Linked DNA regions of Homo sapiens: region 2 is linked to region 1. The links are contacts of gene promoters, found by promoter capture Hi-C in human tissues and cell types (Jung and others, 2019). All regions are on one chromosome and are shown on one strand. Each heading gives the region's core, a stretch centred on a gene start or on the middle of the fragment in contact. The rest is flanking DNA. Distances are from core to core; before and after follow the strand shown. Region 1 holds the start of TBX18 (T-box transcription factor 18). Region 2 has its middle 290 kb from the start of LINC02535.

Region 1 (6,022 bases), core at 1,357-3,856:
GAGTCCAGTGACTTTTCCTCCTAGTCTAATATGAAATAGCAGGACAGATCATCTTATCAAATTGCCAGGATATCTTCTGATAAAGAACCAATCTGCCTGGGAGTTTCAAATCTGAAAAAGCAAATCATAGTTTACTGGAGTAAACTGCTGTTTAAAAATAAAAGAGAAAGGAAAAAAAAAAGAATGTTTCCTAGTTCCAGAACTGACAACTAGAGCCTAAATAAATACCTGGACAAGGGTAAATATGACCTCAAATTTATAACCGCCCTGAACGCAGAACATCAACCGCGACAGCTGTGGCATCAGCGGCGACAGTAATTTTCTCCCTGGCATTCAACCAGAGGGCAGTTGGACTGTGCACCGACTGCACTAGTGGTGGGTAGCCAAAGCTAGCCTCCAAAGTGAACCACGGTCTGGGGCCTGGTCCCGTTTGACCGAAAATGCTATCCAGAACCCCCACCGAGCTGCAGGCCCTTCTTCCTGATTGAGCTAGAGGTGAGTGAAGACAGGGTCTGGGGTAGGGAGGGGCGTCCACGCCAGCTTGCCCATTACCTGCCGGCCTTGGTGATGATCATCTCAGTGCCTATCTCATGAAAGCGCTTCCAGAGCTCGGCTCCCTGCAGATCCACCCGCGGGGCCTGCGGCGAGGGCAGAGGGGTCCCGGGCCGGGCCAGGGAGCGCGCCGGAGACCCCTTGGGGGAGCCTCCCGGTGACGCCAGAGGGGAAGCTCCCTGCTGGAAGCCGTCCTCACAGCCGCCTGGACAGCAAAGGACAGAGAAAGGGAACTGGTGAGGGAAACAGAGGGGAAGCCAGCCGCGGAGACGGGCCCACCTGGTGGCTGAGAAGAGGAAAATGACCGGGAGAAAAGGGGAAGCTTTGGTGCCATCAGGTCCTCCTAAAGAACAAGCCAGTCGATAGACACCCACATTCTGCCTGTCGAAGGGGCGCATTCAGAGCTCCAGTGTGGCCTGCTTGGTCCCCAAGTCCCAAGCCCGGGAGAGGCGCGCGGGCAGCGTCCACCCCACCCGCTGGGCCTCCGCAGGGCCAAGGCCCCAGCAGAAAAGGCTTCACGCCGCCGCCGGGGTCTGGGACGCTTGCCCGACGGAGTCAGAGGAGCTCCCGGGTCCAGAGTCCCCAGTGCAAACTCCGACGCAACCTGCGCCTCGAAGCGCAAGCAGCAAAAGCGCCCGGACTCTGGTCCCAAGAGCCTGGGCCTCCTTAAGCCATAAGCGTCTGCGGCGCCTCGCTTTGGGCCTTCTTTTGGGCCGGGCCGGAGGCATCTTCTAGAAGGCTCTTCAGACCCCGCTTTCGCCAAACTCCCGGCGCCCTGCGCTTCCAGCCCAGCAGAGAAAAGTGTGAAAAGCAAGCCCGCGGTCGCCGTCGGCCTTGGCAGAGAAATCAAGAGGAGAAGGGAAGGGAACCGCTCAACTACCCTTCGGGAAACCAAGTTTCCAAATATGCCGCCCTCTTCCTGGTTTGCACAAACGGTTTAGGGCATTCGTTCCGGTTTCAGGGTGGGGTATGCCGTCGCTCCCCTCCTCCCCGCCCTGTGCTTTTAAAAGTTAGGAAACAAAAAAGAGCACCCATTGGCTGGAACCCCAAGGGAGGCAGATGCAGGAAGCACAGAGCTGCACCGCTAGGCGCAGCAAACAGCCGCGGCCGAAGGCGCGGGTCGCCGAGTGGGCGGCGGCCGCCCGCGAGGCGAGCCTGGAAGCAGTATCTGAACCGTCTGGAGGGTGACCAGGTTGCGCGGCGAGCTTTGCGACTGACACGGCCAATGCGCTAGTGGCTGAGTGGCCTTGGCCATGTAGGGACGCGGCGCGCACGCACACCCACAGACTCGCAGAAGTTCAGGTTCGCGCCGGAGAGAAGTTATAGGCAGGAAGGGGCCCACTCACCCGCGGCTCCGCGCTCCAGGTCTGCGCCACTCCGAGCCGGCCCAGACGTCGCCCCAGCCGGCGGCGGGAGCGCAGCGCCTTCGTCTCCCTCAGAAGAACCCTTTTCGCCCGCGCCGCCGCCGCGGCTGCAGCCTCCGTCGTCCACGGCCCCCGCCGCCTCTTCGGCGCCCAGTTTTCGCCGCTTCTTCTGAAGCTGTTGCTGCTTCTCGGCGCCGATCAGCGCCTCCACCGAGAAAGCGTGCGCCTTGAGGCTTAGCATGCTGCACGGCGAGCCCCTTCGCTTCTCGGCCATCCCCCCCGCCCCGCGCCCGCCCGCCCCTCTCTCATATACACTCACGCGGGCACACGCGCGCTCTCGCTCTTCCCCCACCAAAAACTAAAAGGCTCTCGGGGCCTCCCGAGATCTGCCCCCTTCCCCACCGCGGGCAAAAAACAGATTTGGCGTTTCCGCTTTCTCGCTTGTGTTGGGATCCAGGAACCGGCGACGCGCCGGCCAAGTCTCCTTTCCTGGGTCTCTCTCGCGCGCTCTCTCACTGATGCACTCCTTTGCTCCCACCCCTTCCACCTCCTCCTGCTGCTCCGAGGTCTGCCTCAACTGATGCGCCAGAGAGGACTAACATGGGTAAAAAACACTCTGTGGACACAAATTAGGGATTGTAATTGAAATTTGTTGCCTTGATCTGTCAGCACTTCCAGGCAGGAGAGCGGTGGGAAGAACTTGCTCATTAGTGTCAATAAAGCGGCGGGGGCGGAGCCCGGGTCCCTGTCCATCACCCAGACGGCCGGCCAATCAGGAGGCGCCGACTCCGCGCAGCCCGCGCCCACTTCCTTACAAGGTAGCGAAAAACCAGGAGTGAAAAGCGCCGCTGTCTGGCTTGGATGTGCCAGCCACACGGACGCTGAACTCTGTCTCTCTGACGTCCGTAGCTGAGTCCAGCCCCGTAGTCTCCAGCTTTCCTCACCAGGACCTGGAAAGGCGGAAGTTCCCGGCTTTAAACTAGACGTTCAACAAGTTAGAAAATCAGGAATCTTTCAAGGTTCCGTAAATTGCCGTCCCACTTCCGTATCGCTTAATGTTGCTACAACTCAGAATATTGGGAAGCTGGGAAGAATTCGCAGGCCCCTCCTTTCTCATTTAAATGTTCCTGCACTCAGTCTGCGCCAGATATGGCTTAGGCTTATTTAAACTTTACTCCGTGATTTTTTTCTTAGGGGATACCAGGTTAAGAAATATGTAAATCCTTTAGGAGTGCAAAATGTTACGTTAACGCTCAGTCCGTCATATAAATGTCAGAAAAAGCACGCCCTTTCCGCAGCCCACCTTTTCTTTCAAAGAGTGGTAGTTATTTTAAAACGTAGGTCATGGGATTTTCATTCTGTACGTCTTTAACGATATGGACAACTTTAAAACCCCTTAAAACTTCGCAAAATGAAATAAGTATGAAGACGCAATAAAATTCCCCATTTGAAAAACTTCTCTGTGATTTAAGTAAGTTTATATTTGTCCTACTGTTGACAATTTACAATCGTTACTTCAGGCTTTTAAGGAGTCCATTGATGTATTTAAAACAAATTTAATAAAATCAGTGCTTTTTAATTAAATGACACCAAACATATATATTTGTACAATTTGTTTTGTAGTTTCAACTCGACTTTTTGTTAGGATTAACAAATATATATATATATGTTTGGTATAAATAGAGCAAATCTCTTGTGGAATAAAATTAATCGTGCATATTACTCCATCTTTTGTATAAAATACACGGCAGGCCGGGCGCGGTGGCTCACGCCTGTATTCCCAGCACTTTGAGAGGCCTACGCGGGCGGATCACGAGGTCAAGAGATCGAGACCATCCTGGCCAACATGGTGAAACCCCCGTCTCTACTAAATAAATAAATAAATACAAATAGTAGCTGGGCGTGGTGGTGCACGCCTGTAGTCCCAGCTACTCGGGAGGCTGAGGCAGGAGAATCGCTTGAACTCGGGAGGCGGAGGTTGCAGTGAGCCCAGATCGCGCTACTGTACTCCAGCCTGGCGACGCAGCAAGACTCCGTCTCTGTCTCTCTCTCTGTCTCCATATGTGTGTGTGTGTATATATATATATATATATATGACAAAGGAATTTTTTCCTCTCCCTCGTCCCTCGTTTAATTCAATCTCCGCAACCGTTGGCTGCCCTTTTATCTCTGACTTCTCTGTAAACTTTCAGTAGAGTAGCATTTGGGGGTAGATCCGCCACTGAGACTGATCCTTTTATTGTAGAAGAGAACGCGCGGTTCCTGGAGGCCGGACACCACAGCGGGAGTAGGAACCTGGCAGGCGATGAGCAGAGGCACGAGCAAGCCGCCCAGCCAAACCTGGCAGCCTTGAGGTCAAAAATGATTTTGTAATATCCTTGCGGAGGAAGCCTCTTTTAGACGCCTGAGAAACAAACTCAGTTGGGAGGAGGTGTTTTGCATTTTACAAAATGAAGGCTTTGCGACCGGTTTAGAGCTGTGTGGTCCCTAGTGGGTCTCCAAGCTCCGGGGTACCCTAGGCCGGTATTACATCATTAAAAAGAAGCGCAAATCCCATTTCTGAAGCTTAGCCGAAGGCAGGCGCCGGCAGGGAGAGCTAAGAGGCCGCCTAGAGAGTTTGGGCCGGGAGTGGGAGTGGGACAAGGCGGGAGCTAACTTAGCTGGAGTAGACGCCAGAAGAAGTTCCGTTCAGCTGAGGTGCCCCGCCCCAATCCCAGGCTCTCGGGGACCCCAAGAAGGGAGCTACCCGGTGCTTCTCCGAGCGGTCCTTACAGCTTTGGAGACTCTGCTGCTGCCCAGGGGTGTAGTCGTCGGAGCCCTCGGGCCTGCTGGGGCTCAGCAGGGGTAGTGGGAGCCCCTACCCTGGGAGAAACTGCCAGGGACAAACACTGTTTGCTGACGCAAAGCCTGTTCCGCAAAGGAGTTCTCCCTGTATATGTCCTGCAGCTCAAACTGATTTAGAAAGGGATACACAGGCCTGCAAGGCGCTCTCGGGATCATACAGCCTCACGCCCTCTTCTTTTCCTCTGCCATTTCTTTATGTCTTTCGCCTTCACCCTGGGCAGCAGACCCCAGCAGGCGGGGAAACCCGGGGACTGGTGTCCGCATTGCCGAAAGGCTGGAAAGCAGAGCCTCGTCTACATCCACGATGTTTCTAGAACGTGGCCCTTAGAAATAATTCAAGTGTGAGTAGGGCGCCGAGGACAGGACAAGGCGTTTGCCCCCTAGTCCTGCTACTGGCTAAGGAGAATCATAGCAGTAGAGCCGCACCACTGCTGCCGCCGCCTCCAACTTGCGTTAAGTTCGGCTCAGGCTACTGGATTGGGCAGGACCAGCTAACCCAGGTCCCGAGGGGCAGTGTGTCACAGACTGCAGCCCACTCCAACCTCGGCTCCTGGAGAAGGGGCGTCGAATCTCTCTTGGGCATGGGAGGGAAAGACATTCCGAGTTGGCTGGGCGGAGTGGCAGCCTTGAGAGTGACGAGTGACAGCAAAGCCTCGTCCTAGCAAGGCCTTTTACCAACAGCGCGGCATGCCCTTTCGAGGAGAGCGCCAGGCCCTCGCACTTTGCAAGTCAAGAGAGCAAAGAAAGCGGGGACAGGGCGCGTAATCGCAATGTCCGGTCGCGCGTGTGCACGTGTCTGTGTTTGCATGTGTGCGTGAGCATGTGCACCTGCTCAAGTGTAAATGTGTCTGTTGGCAGTTGGGGTCTAAGTACCTGAGAATGTGTGTCTTCTGTTGCTTTAGGAGATTAAAATGTCTTTTCCCAGTATTGAGCTACATTGAGGAAACAAAACTGAAATAAACTGTCAGGCCTCTCTCAAGACCAGCCGGATTCTATGTTAAATAAAAGTCAGCCAGAGGAGAATATTGTCAGAATGAATTAGTCTCAAGGACTTGGGGAGAGAGAGAAGGGCAAAAGATCCTTGAGCTCCCAGATCTGGGACAACGATATACAGTGGAATCCATGTCCTGCCGGACAGCAACACTAACTGGTGGGAGGGGGCGTGCAGGGGCGGGAGATGGACTTTTAAAAAGCATATCCGGTCTCTTCTTTATTTTTCTTGGTGCAGTTTAAAATTGGACAGTTCCGAAATAGTGCTTTTT
Region 2 (6,573 bases), core at 1,745-4,244, 350 kb after region 1:
AGCTCTGCCAGCTTCCATCCACCCAAATCACTTTCTTTTGATAAGCAGAGAAGAAGAGAAACACGGAATATACTTATTAAAGATTTCCCTAAAGTGTTTAGCTGTTCTACAACATGGTGGGAAGGTTTTAGTTTTTAAAATAAGTGGGAAAGAATTAAATTGCCTTTCCATACTGCTCCCAGATTTTTATGTCTGTATCTCAAGCACAGTGTTTGAATAACTTGCCTTACAAAAGAAAGGTAGAAACTAAATTAAGCTAATAAAAAGCCCAGAAGAGCTAGCCAATGGGGAAAGGAGATCTTGCTTAAGTCTTAAGAGGCAAAGAAAGTTGAGAGCTCGAAGGGGTTGGGAAGAGAGATATTATATCATTCTAGAAACAAAACTCATAGAAATGAGATAAGGAGAAGGGAAACTGAGTGATAGCTTGGAAATTTGCTAATAACGAGAAGTCTATTTCCCTAGAGGCAACCCATCACATCAGGCAGATTGGACCAGACTGAGATGCTGTTTCCTAGAGAACTGGTTCTTCCCTCAGCTCGTTTCAATGACAATGAGCATTTCTAGTTGAGTGCGAGAAGACATGAAGGGCATCTTTTATTTTCCTAAGAGGAAATTGAACCTATGCATCGTAAGACTTCAGCATGTGCCTGTGTATGAAAAATATGAGCCAAATGCTTTTGAAAAGAAACAGAAGTATTCTGCCCTTGTGACAGAGAAGTGTCCAAGAACAAAGACAGAGGTATTTCAGCATGCAATTCCTATCCTACAGGCTCTTTGTTGTGATACATTTTATGACCAACTTTAAAGACATTGACCTGTTGATCTTGTTCTGGTTTTTATTCACTACATCCTTCTTAACATAAGAAAAAATCCCTTAGGAAAAGCAAGATTTTTATTTCCAAAAAAAAAAAATCTACACAGAGCCCCAGTATCCTAATAGTCTCTCTCCTGCCATATAGAACATTCACTGCTTTAAATGTATAAAAAAGGAAAATTGCACCATGAAACAAACTTGAGAGTGTGGCAAGAGTCCCACCCATGTGTTGCCTCGTGGGTGGAATTAGAGATCTAATCTACAAAGACACCTCAAGTTGCCTTACCAGATGCCCTCTGATTGGCTGAAGGCTGAGTTATGCTAAGAAGTCACTCTTTCATTGAACAAAATTTCTAATTAACACTGAAAATGTGTGGTAGCTAAGTTGCTGGTGAAGACAGGGTATCTCCTCATTCTTCTTAGCTGAAGCTAGATTAAACTATAAAAAGGGGACAATATAATTGCTCACGGTGGGGCATGGTGTTTTCTCCTGCACAAACATATAATTAGGCTGTCTTAACCTCCCCATTCAGCAATAAACACCACTTCACAGACTAATTTACAGGCAAGAGTCGCAGAAGGCTGTGGAATAAACTCTCAGGGTGACAGGCCCTGAAGTTCAGTTAAAAGAGAGCAGCTTCACTATTTCAAGTCAGCAAAAATCTTTTTGCACTTACTACAAACTAAAATGAGATTGAAATAAGGGCTATGCATTCAAAACATTGAACACACCAGCTAATAAAAAATACATTTGTGACTGGTCGTAAAAATAGAGAATGTAATTGGCTATACCCTAGAAATATCTTTTACTTACAATATTTGGGAAGACAGGGGTCTCCATAATATTGACTTTGCTAACACGTCTACATTTTTCTGTCCACCATAATTATGCATCAGTCAGCGACACCTCACTTTTGTAGCTGCCAACAGGCCTTGATTCAGGCAGTGGGAGGTAGGCTGGCTGAGGCCCGGCACTGGATAATATTTGCCTGGCAAATACTGTTGGCTTGGGGCAGTGAGGGGGAGGTGCTCTTGTAAAAAGACAGCTCCTCTAGGTTGCATCATTCTTCCCATTAAACCCCCAGGGCCGGGGATGGGGGGGCCTTTCTGAAGGGATGTGGGAGCTGTTCTTCAGCTGCCTATTTTGTCCAAAAGCCTTCTTTAAGCATGGAACACAACACAGACTCAGTAGGGGAGGTCACAGAAATAGATACATCTCTTTGTGGGAATTATGTTTTCTTCTGGCCAAAGCAAACCATCTAGACGCAGAGAGGCTGTGGTTTGACACTGGTTGGACTTCAGGAACAATTATAGAAGGGTTGCGGGCTGTGGATGCATTGAACGTGATTCATGTGGTGTGAGAGTTGGAGAAAGGACGGTAGACAAAAGCACAAAAGGGAGGCCCAGAGACCAATTAGTGGAATGAGAAACTAAAAAGTTTGGTAGATGGTTTTATCCACAGCCAAGTCTGAATTATTTATAGATTATTTTCTTCTGGATTCCCTCTCTAAGTTTGCAGAAATAAAATAGGTAATTGGGCCATATTTTCTCCCAAGTCCTTTTTTTATATCCAAATCTCGGTTCAGCCAAGATTTTCAAGGACAAGAACTGTGTTTTCACTATTGTAAGTCTGCAGGATTTGGAAGTACCCATTATAAATAACCAATACTGTGGAAGCAGCGACTGAATGAACGAATGAAATCTTCCCTACTGAAAGACTGAGAAATAAACAGGCTAATGTTACATTTTCAAGATGCAAGTAACTACAAAATCCCACTTTTATAGGTTCTTTAATGAACGAAAGGAAAATGATTGATTAAAACAAAAATAATTTAGATAAAATAATTTTAACCTTTTCTGAACAAATGCTGCACAAAGAATATCATCTAAAATATTAATTATGTTTTAAAATATTATTGATTATGAGAAACAACTTAAAAAGAAAAGCTTATAGTTACTTGTTTCTCAAGTAATGTTTTCATGAAATAAGACAACTTTAAATGGCAAACAGGAAATTCTCATCTTGATAACTTTAAACTGAGTCTGCTGTGCAGGGTAAAGATATTAGTTTTAGTGAGCATTAATTTTAAATTTTGGAAGTTAGCAGTGACTCAGCACTTTTAAAAAGTTAAATATCAAGTTTTCAATTATCTCAAACTCGCCCCACACATATAATTTTTTAAAAGAAGTTGAGATCTCCTTCAAAATTTCAGTACTGTCTATAAATTTGTGATAATATGCATAAACTACAAAAATTATAGTTGATACCTTTAAGAGAAACAGCTGTAGTTGGCATTTTATAATTTTTTGACTCATAATGCCGGCAATTCTAACTTAAGTGTTGTGTTTAACTTCCTTAATATGCGTAAGGGGGCCCCTTTAAGAATTAGGCTTCCTCAACTTTCAAACCAATTTTAAATGACTGCACAGTAGCAGGGGGATATGGCTCTGAAATGGAAGATTTTAATAAAATATATAATTCAACAGTAACTAAATATCTTGTGTTTTCAAAGTTACTGCAATTCCCCCTTTTTTTTTGAAGTTTTAAATCCCGCTTTGACTACTGGTGGTATTGCAATCAATGAAGTTTATTCAAGGAGTAATCATTGCTATTGACAAACTTAGTAAACAGTTTAAATGCATAAGTTCCATTATCAAAATATTGTATATATATATATATATATATATATATATATATATATATATACACATAAAATAAATTTAGATTTTTATATAGTCAAAAAGATTATAATGTATAGTCAGGATTTCCAATAATTTTTCATAAAATTTTTCTTTTGTTCTTAGTAAGAAAATGTCATATATCTTTTGCAGTTTTTAGATAAAACAATTGGTAAATGAAATACAGTACATTAAAATACTTTGAGGCTTTAAAAAAATAAGAAAGAAAAGTAATTTCAGTGGAATTATCATTTTAGCAAGACTAAGATCATTCCATGAAGAAGACAGAGGTGGGTACCCTGGTGAAGCCCTGGCTTGTGTATGTGCCCACACGTACACATGTACCATTTGGCAACAGACTTTTAACAAGTAAAACATCAGTAAGGCAATTTAAAAATTGTTGCCACGAATCATTCACATTCCCTCCTCGGGTGAAACATGGCAATGGTCTTAAAGTTAAACATAAGCACTGCACACACCGTAGCTATGGGGAAATGCTTGTAACCATAACCTACTGGCTTTCACAGATATCTTTAATTTAAGGCTCTGGCTGGCGCAGAGGTGAGAGCTGAAGCAAATAATGTCAAGGGAGTGAACAGTTACCTCAAAACACAAGGATATTTTCTATTGTGTAAGAAAAGGAGAGAATTAACCAAGGTAAGGAACAACTTAGTAGTTTAATTATGAGTCTTTTAATGTCTTTTCATAATCAGTTAATAAATACCTTAACAATAAAATTGAATTTAAGCTTTTAATAGGCCGTGTTGGCTTAAACCTAAACAAAGGAATTAGCAGCTCCAGGCATTGTGCAATAACTGCTCACTGTTTGGTGCCAGGAGAAACAAAGCATTTCAAGTGCGTTTTTTGTACCTTACTATAATAAACGCTTGTAATATTCCCCAATTTCTGGAGTGTAAGACGCAGATCTTATTTATCACAGTATGTGACACACCTGGCACGCGGATCAGGAAACAACTGTTTTACTTCATTTCTGTCATCACCTTCCAACAGATTTCTTTCACATTCCAATTTGGATAGGAGGACTTGACTTTCTCTCCATAAGTTCTCCATTAACAGTTTCACAGCAGAAGGCGCCATTGGTCCGCTTCCTCTCGCAGCAATTAATTACACAGAGCGGCGTGTTTTGACGCGGACCACAGCAAACGCGTCAGGTCACGGGCATTTACGCGTATCTGAGAGCAACGTCTTTATCATCAGCACGGTGCGTTCCCTGCAAAGGTAATGAATTGTCATAGTTCCTCAGACAGGCAATGACGAACACCGTGTCAAGTCAGCAGCACAAATTACCAACTTCAACTCCCTTCAGTCACTTTTATTAATATGCATTTTATTTGAGGGAGTTTTTTTTAAGGAGTTGTGTCACTTTATGCGTTCGGCAGATGAAAGGCACTTTGGCTTTCTGTGTTAGCAGCGGAGAGTGTATCAGACTTGGAGTCTTGAGCTCTGTGAGCCCTGTGAACAACTATGCACTAATAAACCTTGAAAAGCTTGAATTACACTATAACCCACAAAAATTTTCAAATTAAAAAGGCATATTTAGAGGCCCCCCGTGGATAGTGATTTTATTTAGTTTAATTCCCTCTTGTGGCCAATTAGGTAGACACCCCTGCACACAGGCACACAGTCCTAGGGGAAGAAAGTGGGGCGGGGGCGGGGGCGGGGGCGCCGGGGGGTGGCTAACTTTTTTTTTTTAATGGCAGTATATCATTCCTCCATAGACAGAAATGATTTTCCCGGCTGTTGTTCTATAAAGAACAGGGCTGTTAGAAATCAATGAAAGTGTATGCAAGATGAATTTTTATTTGGCTCAGTTTTTTAAGGCTATACAGTACTCCAGTTTCTTCCTAATTCAGCCGTAGTCAATTGCCAAGTTGAAGAATAAAAGTTAAAGTTCCACCATGACCATGACAACAGAATATATCCATTTAGTGCTCTTCAATTATCTACTGGTCAAAATAACTTCTAAGAAGGCTGCAAATGCATGGTTAATGGTAGGTTTATTTGTATCTTTTTTTAATTAATTGATTTGCACAACTTCAATGCATTTTTATCACGTATGCATTGAGCTCATTTACCCAAATGAAACTTGGATCGACACGAAAGATATATTTGTTACAAAAATTGTTCCTAGGGAGCTGCTGTTTCCATCAGAATTGTGAAATGTGCCTCCTTTTCATCTGGTGGCAGGCTCCACATGTACCATATGAAAAAGGAGTTAATAAAATGCACATTGGAAATATAAAACAAGGTCAGAGGCGACAGTTTGGCTGAAGGCCTTTCTTTAAGTGTGGAAAACAAAAGAACAAGATTGTTTTAGCAGTTGCAGCTGTTGGGAGAGGCAGCTTTGGGTGGAGAGAAGCAACCGAAGGCCCTGCTACCTGTTTCCTGAGTCTATCAGATCCAGGGTCCTCTCCCTAACACAGATACCCGGCACAGTAGGTGCCCCAAGCTTTGGAAAGTCTCAGTAGAGAAAAAGAAAAGTCTCCATCTTGTTCCCAAGAGAGCTCTGGGGACCAGAAGGATGTAGCTTGGGGAGGTGTAGGGTCAGGCTAAGGAGTGGGAGGGCCTGTGTGAGACTTCAGTCTCTAAAACCCCACAGTGCTGTGTCCTTCTCAGAGCCAGATGTGATGAATGGCATTACTGTGTGCACGTTGAAAGCCACCCTGATTGGATGCCTTTCAGTGGTAAATTTTTAAAAATAAGTACTTAAGATTCTGTGGTTGGGTCCATCGTATGCCAACCAAACCAGGGGAAAGAAAATAACATTGTCAGTCAAGCAGCTGCTTGTTCCACATCCCTTGACAGATTTGTTTTTCTTAATGAACTGACTGGTTACTTTGGCATCACTTAAGAGCTGCAAGGCAAACAGTGAAACTCAATCAGAAAAACTTTATCATTTCAGAATGAAGATAAAAGAGAAAACACTTAATAATTATGTCACAAGACAATGATAGTAGCCCACGAACCCATTAATATGTGAACATAAATTGGCTAATCAGAGTAGCTGTGACCCAGCAAAAGAAACTTTATAGTCTTTGATAAAGAATAAGAAAACCAGG

Evidence for each region. Contacts are between HindIII fragments. The study calls those that stand out against the background at their distance.
Region 2: a fragment that was not itself captured here is called in contact with the fragment with the promoter of TBX18 in region 1 in 2 of the 25 tissues and cell types used here (H1 embryonic stem cells and mesendoderm cells).

What each region holds. Positions count from the first base shown.
Region 1 is chr6:84,761,992-84,768,013 of GRCh38, forward strand. It overlaps TBX18 (T-box transcription factor 18), which reads right to left and starts at 2,607. Exons shown (of 8, transcript NM_001080508.3): 1 at 1,899-2,607; 2 at 553-757. The coding sequence starts at 2,190. LOC124901353 (a long non-coding RNA gene) reads left to right here and starts at 350. Exons shown (of 2, transcript XR_007059666.1): 1 at 350-495. RefSeq lists enhancers at 1,340-1,924, 1,925-2,508, 2,520-2,814. The HindIII fragment of the contact is 5,576 bases long and covers 271-5,846 here.
Region 2 is chr6:85,109,819-85,116,391 of GRCh38, forward strand. No RefSeq gene overlaps it. Among named protein-coding and RNA genes, the nearest start is that of LINC02535, 290 kb to the right of the region's middle. The HindIII fragment of the contact is 3,254 bases long and covers 1,368-4,621 here.